Regions from separate parts of the Homo sapiens genome. Here all the other regions are linked to region 1. The links are contacts of gene promoters, found by promoter capture Hi-C in blood cells and fetal thymus (Javierre and others, 2016). All regions are on one chromosome and are shown on one strand. Each heading gives the region's core, a stretch centred on a gene start or on the middle of the fragment in contact. The rest is flanking DNA. Distances are from core to core; before and after follow the strand shown.

Region 1 (2,607 bases), core at 49-2,548:
GGTTTTTCTTACCCCTGGTGTAGAAGCTACCAACCTTTTCCAAGAAAGAGGGCCTGGCCCCCTTCTCGGGTCTGGCTGGGTGCCTGCTGTGCCTCTCTGGCCTCCCCTCCGAAGGGCACCATTCCCTCGGGTGAGTACTACCGGCCTGCACCGTCTTCCAGTGGGGACAGCCTGAGAAGAGAGTCTGGAGCCTTACTTCAGTACCTTCCTTCACTGGCCTCACCCTGTGCAAATCATGCCACACGCTGCAGCCTCCTTTTCCCTATCTATAAAATAAAAATGACCCTGCTCTATCTCACTGGGCTGGCAAGAACACACTGTTGTTACCTTGCAGACAGATGTGCTGAGGCTGTAGAAAGTGCTTTTTATTTGGTTGGGAGCTTGTGCATAAATGCGAGAGGGGCTGCACATCTGACGGACTAGAGGTGACTCATGGCTGAACCGGAACAGGACATCGGGGAGAAGCCAGCAGGTGAGTCTGGGAGTCCTGTTCCCAACATGGTCCTCAAGGAGGATGGGACAGGGGGCTGGGGAAGGCTGGGACACAGGTGATGCTGTGGCCAGCAGTGCCCTGTGGCCTCCGCCACTCTGCCAGTGGGGTAGTGAAGAGCAGAGCAACTAGACCAAAGGTCCTTTCAGAAGGAAGCAAGTGTCTATAGCTATAATAAATAATAATAGCAGCCAGCAATTACTGGTGCTCACAACTGCTAGGAAGTTGTACCTTCTGTGTACTTTCTCATTGACTTCTTACAATCTGGTGAGGTAGGATTGTTAACCTCATTTTCAGATCAGAGAGGTTATGTAACTTGCCCAAGGTGTCAAAGCTACTAAGTGGCAGAGGAATTCAGACCCAAATCTGCCTGAGTGCAAAGGGCATGCTTTGTGACCTCTATGAGACTCTGGCCGTTCACAGAGCTGACACATTGACCACAGAATAAAATGCTTTCAAACGTAGTGGACAGGGCAGGGAAAGTTCTCGGGCTGTGTGTTGGGTGAGTTAGCAGTGAGGCAGGAAGGCCTCGTTTCAGGTCAGGTTCTGGTATCTCTATCAGGTATCGATATCAGGTCAGGTACTGGCAGGTGGGCTGGGGCCCAGCTGCTACAGGGGCTGCCTGAGAAGGAGCCACAGCCCTGAGCCACCTCCAGGGCCCAGAATTGAAAGGCAAAGAGAAGACTGCAGATCCCCGCTCACTAGGGGAGGGGACATTATTCCTGTCCTGGGAAGGGGCTGAGTTGGGCAGGAGCGTCTCATCTCCTTGGAGGCATCTGGCAGGGTGGCACAAACAGGGCTGACTTCATAAGTCTGTGATCAGTGCAGCTGCCCAGGGCCTTGCATTCAGAAAGGCCCTGGGCTTGGGGTTCAACATTCTGTGATTGTTGACTTGAAATGTGTCATAATTTTAGCCCTGAACTTGTTTTGTAAGTGGTGTCCGATGGGACAATGGAGCATGTGCCAGGGTTGGGAGTTGGAGCCTCAGCTCATACATATGGTCTCCACACCCAGACCAGCCCCACCACTGCTGTAACCCTCTGCCAGAGTCCCTCATTCCGCTGTCACCTTTGCCCAGGCAAAACAAGGATCAGAAGTTGAGGAGTGGCAGGCAGCCCTGGACACTCTCACCCACCCCCATCCAGCTAGTTGGTGCGTTCAAGTGGGGAGGTCGCAATACCCTGGGCGTCACCCATTTGCCCTGGGTTAGAGCAGCGGCTGTGAGAAGGGGAAATTGGCTTCCTCTTCATTTTCCTTTTGCACTCGGCTTTGCAAATTATGTAGTTGGCCCTGGTCACATCCATATCTGGCCATTTACCAACCTGAACAAACTACTTCCCCTTTCAGCCTCAATTTTCCTGTCTGAAAATGAAAATAATAATGTGCATACCCCACAGGATTCTTTTGGGGACAGTGAGGCTTTTCTCTTTTCCAGAATGCAAGTCTGATTATGACAGCTCTCTGCTAAAAACCAGAATGGCTTGGTGGTGTTTTAGGACAAAGACCAAAACCTTTCATCTAGACTAATGCTGCCCAATAGAAATGTAATGCAAGCCACATATGTAATTTAAAATTGCTAGTAGCCATGTTTTAAAAAGTAAAAACAGGTGAAACTAATTTTAATAATATACTTTGCCCGCTATATGCAAATCATTATGTCAACATATAAGTATGAAAATTTTTTATTGCCTCCAAAATCCAGGGTATATTTTACCTTATCGTGTATCTTATCTCATGTGACAAGAAGCTACATAATTGGACTAACTGGCCCCTGCCAGCCTGTCTGACACTCAGTCCCCCCATGCTCTCTGCCCTGCAGCCATGCTGAACTCTCCACAGGGCCCTGTGAAAAGCTCTTCACCTCCTCTGCCCTCTGGATCTAGTGAAGCCTATTCATCCTTCAGATGTCAGCTCAAATAATCAACCTTCATGGAGGCCTCCCTTGACCCCTAACATGCTTTCAAAGTACTGTGTATTTCACATTCATCATGCCCCGACAACTGTGATTTCCCATTTATTAATATCTGTCTCTTCTGCTGGCCTGCAAACTCCAGGAGCACAGAGACATCTTTGGGATTTTTGAACATGATTTCCCCAGGGCTTAGCCCAGTGCCTGG
Region 2 (2,607 bases), core at 77-2,576, 230 kb after region 1:
CGCGGGAACGCGGGAGGGAGCAGCTGGGAGCGCTGCCAGCAGTGTTACAAGCAAAGGGTTTTATCGAACACGATATGCCCAGAAATAAAAGGGAGTGTAACAGAAACCCAGCGGCCGATAAGGCGGTGGCGGTAGCAGCAGCAGCCCTGGGCAGCTGGGTATGGAATTACTGCAGTGACCTTGAGCCAGACCCTGTCAGGTGGAGGGAAGGGCACAGAGAGGGCAGGGCCTGAGAATTCAGAGATGACGAGAGGGCAGAGGAGGGAGGAAGCTGAGGGGATGGGAGCAGGGCCAGCAGGCGGTGGGATGGGCCACGGGGCACGGAGTATCAGCTCTCTCCTGCATACAGGGTCCCAAGGAGAACTGCGCAGTAGGGAGGGGCTGCTCTTCTCAGGGCCTGCAGGATGGGGGGATCTGGAGAGTTTCCCAAAAGTCAGGACCGAAAAATGCAGATCGCTCATCCCCAGCAAGGGTTTCGGAGAGATGGAGAGAACCCAGATCTGTCCAGTCACACGTGCATGAGTTTGCGTAAAGTCTGTGCACCCACCAGCCCAGCCCACACCCTCTTCCCGTCCTCTGCTAAGGTGGGCTCCAGCCCCTGCCTCCAAGTCAGATCCAGCCTGAGCAGTGGGGAATGACAGTGCCCTTCTTGATGCTGTAAGGGACAGGGGGTGAGCTTGAACTCTAAGCTTCTGGCCACTGTAATAGCTGCATCCCGGGAGCACAGAAGATGGGGGAGGGGGGACTGCCCTGAGGCTAGAGGTGTGCATGAGGGGCTGAAGAAGAGGAAACAGCAGAGATGTGCAGAAGGAGTCTGTGGGGAATGCCACCAAAGATGCTAAGATGCCACCAAAGATGCTAAGTCCCAGGATGGTTGGGGAGGGGGCCCTGAGTCCCTTTTTGGGGGCGGCAGGGAGGGAGGGGTGGCAGGAAAGAAGCCTTTAGGTCCTCTACAGCTCAGCCTTCTCCCTCGCACCTGGAAAAGAGACTAAGCCCCAGAACCACTGTTTGCTCCCCACCAACCCCCGCCTTCCATGCCGCCACTGCCAGGGAGGGGGCCAGGGAGGAAGCTTACCTCCAGTGCGGGCTCCCTCGGCCCCAGCCCCAGCCCGAGTAGCCTCTGCGGTGACCCTCCGACCTGTGCAGCAGCGGGACGGCACAGCCTCGGGAGCGTCTCCAGAGCCATCCACCATGGACCCTCGTCCCAGAGACCCACCTGCTCCCAGGAGGTGCAGACCCCTCAGAGGGGCAGCGGCAGGGTCCCTGGAATGGGTAGCAGCTCTTCCCGCGTGCGTTTGCCTCCTAGCCAGCGCCAGGCAGCACTCCGAGGAAAGTTGCTCAGCTGGCCCGGCAGGTCTGCCTCAGCAGTAACAGGACACAGGAGGAAGTGCAGGGCAGGTTAACCCCTTCCTGCTGGCCAGGCAAGTGGTGCATTGAGAGGTGGGGGGCCTGCCTGTTGGCCGCCCCCAGGAAGTGCACATCTGGAGCCAGTGCTGGCGACCTGATCCCCTCTGCTTTGAGTTAACCCTTCCCCTGCCTCTTCAACAGGAAAGGAGGGGGGCTCCAACACCCCCACCACACCCCTCCCCTTCCTCCTCTGGGCCGGGAGGACATTAAAGGAGAGGGCAGGGACATTCCCTGGGGCTGGCTCTTTGGTGGAGCCCCCGTCTTCTCGTCTTCTTGGGGAGGAGAGCATCAGGACTCCAGCACAGCCCCCTCCCTGCCTTTCCCACACGGAGTCAGATCCTTCTGTCCATCCTCCCCCTCCTGCATCTCAGCTGGAGGATGCCTGAGGCCCACTTAAGGATGCCCACCCACCCAAAAACCAAAGTTGTTCTTCAAACTCTGGGAGCCTGGAGTGCTCTTCACACAGGGAGCCCAGCCCCAAATGGTTATGACTGACAGAAGACAATGAGGGGCCTGAGTTTGAGCTGACAATACCTTTTTTTCTGAGAGCCATTTCTAGCCTGTTTCATGTTCCCCTGAGCAAGGGAGGTAGCATGAAGATCAGCAGCTGTTTTTAAGGCAGAAAGATGGCTCAAGGCCAGATAGTTTGAGATGAGGAGGGGGATAAGGCAGACTAGACCCCGAAATAACAAGGTGATGTGGCCTCTAGAGCTGAAGAGGTGTGGTGAGCATGATCTTCAGGGACTGAATTGGGGCCCTGGGACCCAGCTGAAGAGGGGAGATGGCAGGGAGCCAGGTCCCATGGGTCTAGTTCTACTCCTCATCTCACACTTTGTCATACTTGGTGATGACACTTCGGGAAGACCTGGCTCCAGGAAGCACGACCCTGAAAGTGTGGGCCAAGGAAGCCAGAGGCAGGGACTACCAGAGGTGACACACTGTCCTGTCACCTGACTCCTTGTCTTGCTACCAATCTGCTCCTCTGCTTGGCATCCCACACATCACTTCCCCAGCTATGTCTGTCTGTCCTCCTGCAGGAGGGCTCTGGCAGCTGGCAGGAGGGGATCTGAGGGCAGGTGGAACATGGGAGGACCTGGATCAGGAGCTGACCTAGCCAAGATCCATCATGCAAGACACAGAGGCACACGGAAGTAGTAGAAACTTGAAGGTTCTTTATTGATTTATTTATTAACCCGTTTT
Region 3 (2,607 bases), core at 1-2,500, 130 kb after region 1:
ATGACCACAGAGAAGCACCTTTAATCTGAGCTCCCTCTGTAAAACGGAGACCACATGATCACTTGCCTCATAGAGGCAAGTAAGTTTTGCAAGTTGGTAAGAAAGCTCCTAGGCTGTATGCACTTAGCTCACCTGAACTGTGCTGGAGGCTGGAGTCAGCAGGCTGAAGAGCAGCCTGTCTTAGAAAGAGATTTGGAGTGAGAGTCACCAAAGGCTTGATTTTCTTTTCTTATTTATTTATTTTTTTAGAGACAGGGTCTCACTCTTTCGCCCAGGCCACAGTGCAGTGGTGCGATCATAGCTCACAGTAATCTAAAACTCCTGGGCTGAAGTGATCCTCCCACCTCTGCCTCCCAAAGGGTGGGATTACAGGCGTGAACCACTGCACCTGGCCTGTAGCCTGTTTTTCTATCCCAGCTCTGCCTTCATTGAACTGGGTAACTTTGGGCAAGTCCCTTCCTCTCTCTGGGCCTCCCTTTCTCCATCTGTGAGAAGGGAGTTGGACTACAGGAATCCTGACACCCTGCACCTGTCTCCAGACTGGGGTCTGCTTCTCCCTTCTGAGTCCGGAGTGGTGGGGATGGCCTGCTCTCAGACCTCAGTCTTACCTAGAGAAAAGAAGGTGGCAGGAAACCTTCCTAAGAAGGGTGGGACACTGCACAGCCGGCCTCCCAAAACACCTGGTTGAGCAGGTGCTCTGGATGCCCTGGGGGCAATCCATGCCCAGGTGGGCAACCGAGTCCTAACCTGAGGCAGATGCTGAGGGAAGACCCTCCATCAGGAACCCGCGGCTGATTGCGAAACGCCCCTTCCGCACCCGACGGAGGGGCTGGGATGGAGCCGACTCACCCAGCCACGCACTGTGCCTTTGCGCCCCAGCCGCGCACTCTTCCTCACTTTCCCGGGCTCCCCAGTGCTGCAGCCGGGAAGGGCAGAGCAGGGCAGGTCCCCGACACCGCGTGGGACCCGGCTCCGGGCGGCGCAGCCAACCTCCCTCCCGAGCCCATCGCCCCCTCCCGGGCGCCCAGGCCGTCTCAGGGGCTCCGTCCCGGGATACCTGCCGGCCCCGCGGGAAGGCAGGCGGCGGGGACCGGGCGAAGCCGGCCGACCCTGGCCCCCGCGCAGTGACCCCGGAGCCCCGCGCCTTACCCAGAACTTGGAGCCGAGCTCCCCGGAACCGCACAGGGCGTCCATGGGGCCGAGGCGCGGCTGCAAGGAAGGCGAGCGCGGTCGGACCCAGCGGCGGGCAGAGCGGGCGCCGGAGCCGCCTCCGCCCTCCGCACCCCGCGCTCCGCCCGGACCCGCCCTGCCGAGCCCTACCCCAGTGCCTCTGGGTCCGGTCTCCCTGCCCCCGTCCCGCGGGTTGCGACAGCGCCTCCCTGGGAGGGACTTTGGGGCAGAGGTGGGGGGGCCCTTGGCACGGCGACAGCCCCTGCGAGCGGCCCCTGGGCCAAGCCAGGGGGATGTCTCTCTAAATACCGAGGCTAACAGTCCAGGAGTCGAGTCTATTTCCAAGGGGGAACTGGGATACACAGGCGCTCCCACTCCCGAACAAGTCCGTGGGGCCGATGAGTCATTGAGTAGGGGACGTAGGGAGAGGGATTTAACAATCTTTCCTAGTAAAAAAGGAATCTTTGAGAAGGTCACGTTCCTCTCCGGAGGTCAGTTTCCTCATCTGTAAAATGGGAAGGGCTTCTGTGCTCAATCAGGAAGCTGACCTCTTCCCCATCAGGTTCCAGAGACCACTGGCAGGCGCCACACGGGGAGCACACGGGGTGTGCTCCGCGGGTGTGTACCCGTGAGGCGGGGGTGGGGGCCGCAGCATCGTCCAGCGGGGGCCTCTTATGTCCTCTTAAACTGCTGCCCTCTTAGGCTCTGTGGCTCCCTGACCTTGCCACATCACCTCGGCACGTCTCTGGGCCTCTACTTTCACATCCGTAAAATAGAGACAATCATAGAAGAGAATCTTCCTCCCAGGGTTCTCTGAGGATTGAATGGAAAGGGTAGGCAAAGCGTATTTCCTGGCACACTTAGTGGGCACCCAACATGTGTGAATTCCCTCTGCTTCAGCCTGATCAGGGTTGGGGGGGGAAGGACAGGTGAAGCCCCAGGAGGAGCCCCACGTGAGTGTCCTCGTCCTCGTCCTCCTCCTAAGGCTGAAACTCTACATTCCTGATCTGTAAAATGGGCTTGTCAGTGCTCTCCTTCTCCTGCTTGCCTCAGCTCTCCTTCTCCCGGTATCCCCTCAGATGCGGGGATCCCTCCATCTCTCAATCCCGCTGTTGCCCTGTCTTCCTTAACACAATCCCAGACGCCAACTCAGCACCGCTTGTTGGGGCTCAGAAGGAATTCTCCCTGGCAAATCTTTCCCTGGCCCTTCTCTTCCCTGCCTTTGCCCACAGGTCTGTCCAGTTTCACCCCGGTGACCCCTTTTCTGGCCCTTGTTCTCAAGAGAAGGTGTTTCCTTCCTTGGCTGCTCAGCGGCAGGTGTGGGTGGGAGCCAGTAAGAGTGCAGAAGGGGCAAGCCACCTCCTATCTCTCTGGGCAGCCAGGAGGTCACTAGAAGGGAAGTCTCCTTGGCTATAGGCTATCAGAACCAAGATCTGG

Evidence for each region. The method cuts DNA at HindIII sites, captures the fragments that hold promoters and counts their contacts. A CHiCAGO score of 5 or more calls a contact.
Region 2: the fragment with the promoter of EPN3 here is called in contact with a fragment that was not itself captured in region 1 in 2 of 17 cell types (M2 macrophages and M0 macrophages); the score reaches 6.8 in M2 macrophages.
Region 3: the fragment with the promoter of ABCC3 here is called in contact with a fragment that was not itself captured in region 1 in 1 of 17 cell types (M2 macrophages); the score reaches 5.1 in M2 macrophages.

The regions. Positions count from the first base shown.
Region 1 is chr17:50,764,739-50,767,345 of GRCh38, reverse strand. ANKRD40CL (ANKRD40 C-terminal like) reads left to right here. Exons shown (of 4, transcript NM_001358683.3): 2 at 335-472. The coding sequence starts at 433. Among named protein-coding and RNA genes, the nearest start is that of ANKRD40CL, 1.5 kb to the left of the region's middle. RefSeq lists an enhancer at 1,269-1,358 and a silencer at 1,659-1,708. The HindIII fragment of the contact is 4,284 bases long and covers 1-2,607 here.
Region 2 is chr17:50,531,454-50,534,060 of GRCh38, reverse strand. It overlaps EPN3 (epsin 3), which reads right to left and starts at 1,326. Exons shown (of 10, transcript NM_017957.3): 1 at 1,076-1,326. It overlaps MYCBPAP (MYCBP associated protein), which reads right to left. Exons shown (of 19, transcript NM_032133.6): 19 at 2,560-2,607. RefSeq lists an enhancer at 1-460. The HindIII fragment of the contact is 5,271 bases long and covers 1,073-2,607 here.
Region 3 is chr17:50,633,524-50,636,130 of GRCh38, reverse strand. It overlaps ABCC3 (ATP binding cassette subfamily C member 3), which reads right to left and starts at 1,250. Exons shown (of 31, transcript NM_003786.4): 1 at 1,150-1,250. The coding sequence starts at 1,194. RefSeq lists a silencer at 1,231-1,280. The HindIII fragment of the contact is 5,138 bases long and covers 1-2,607 here.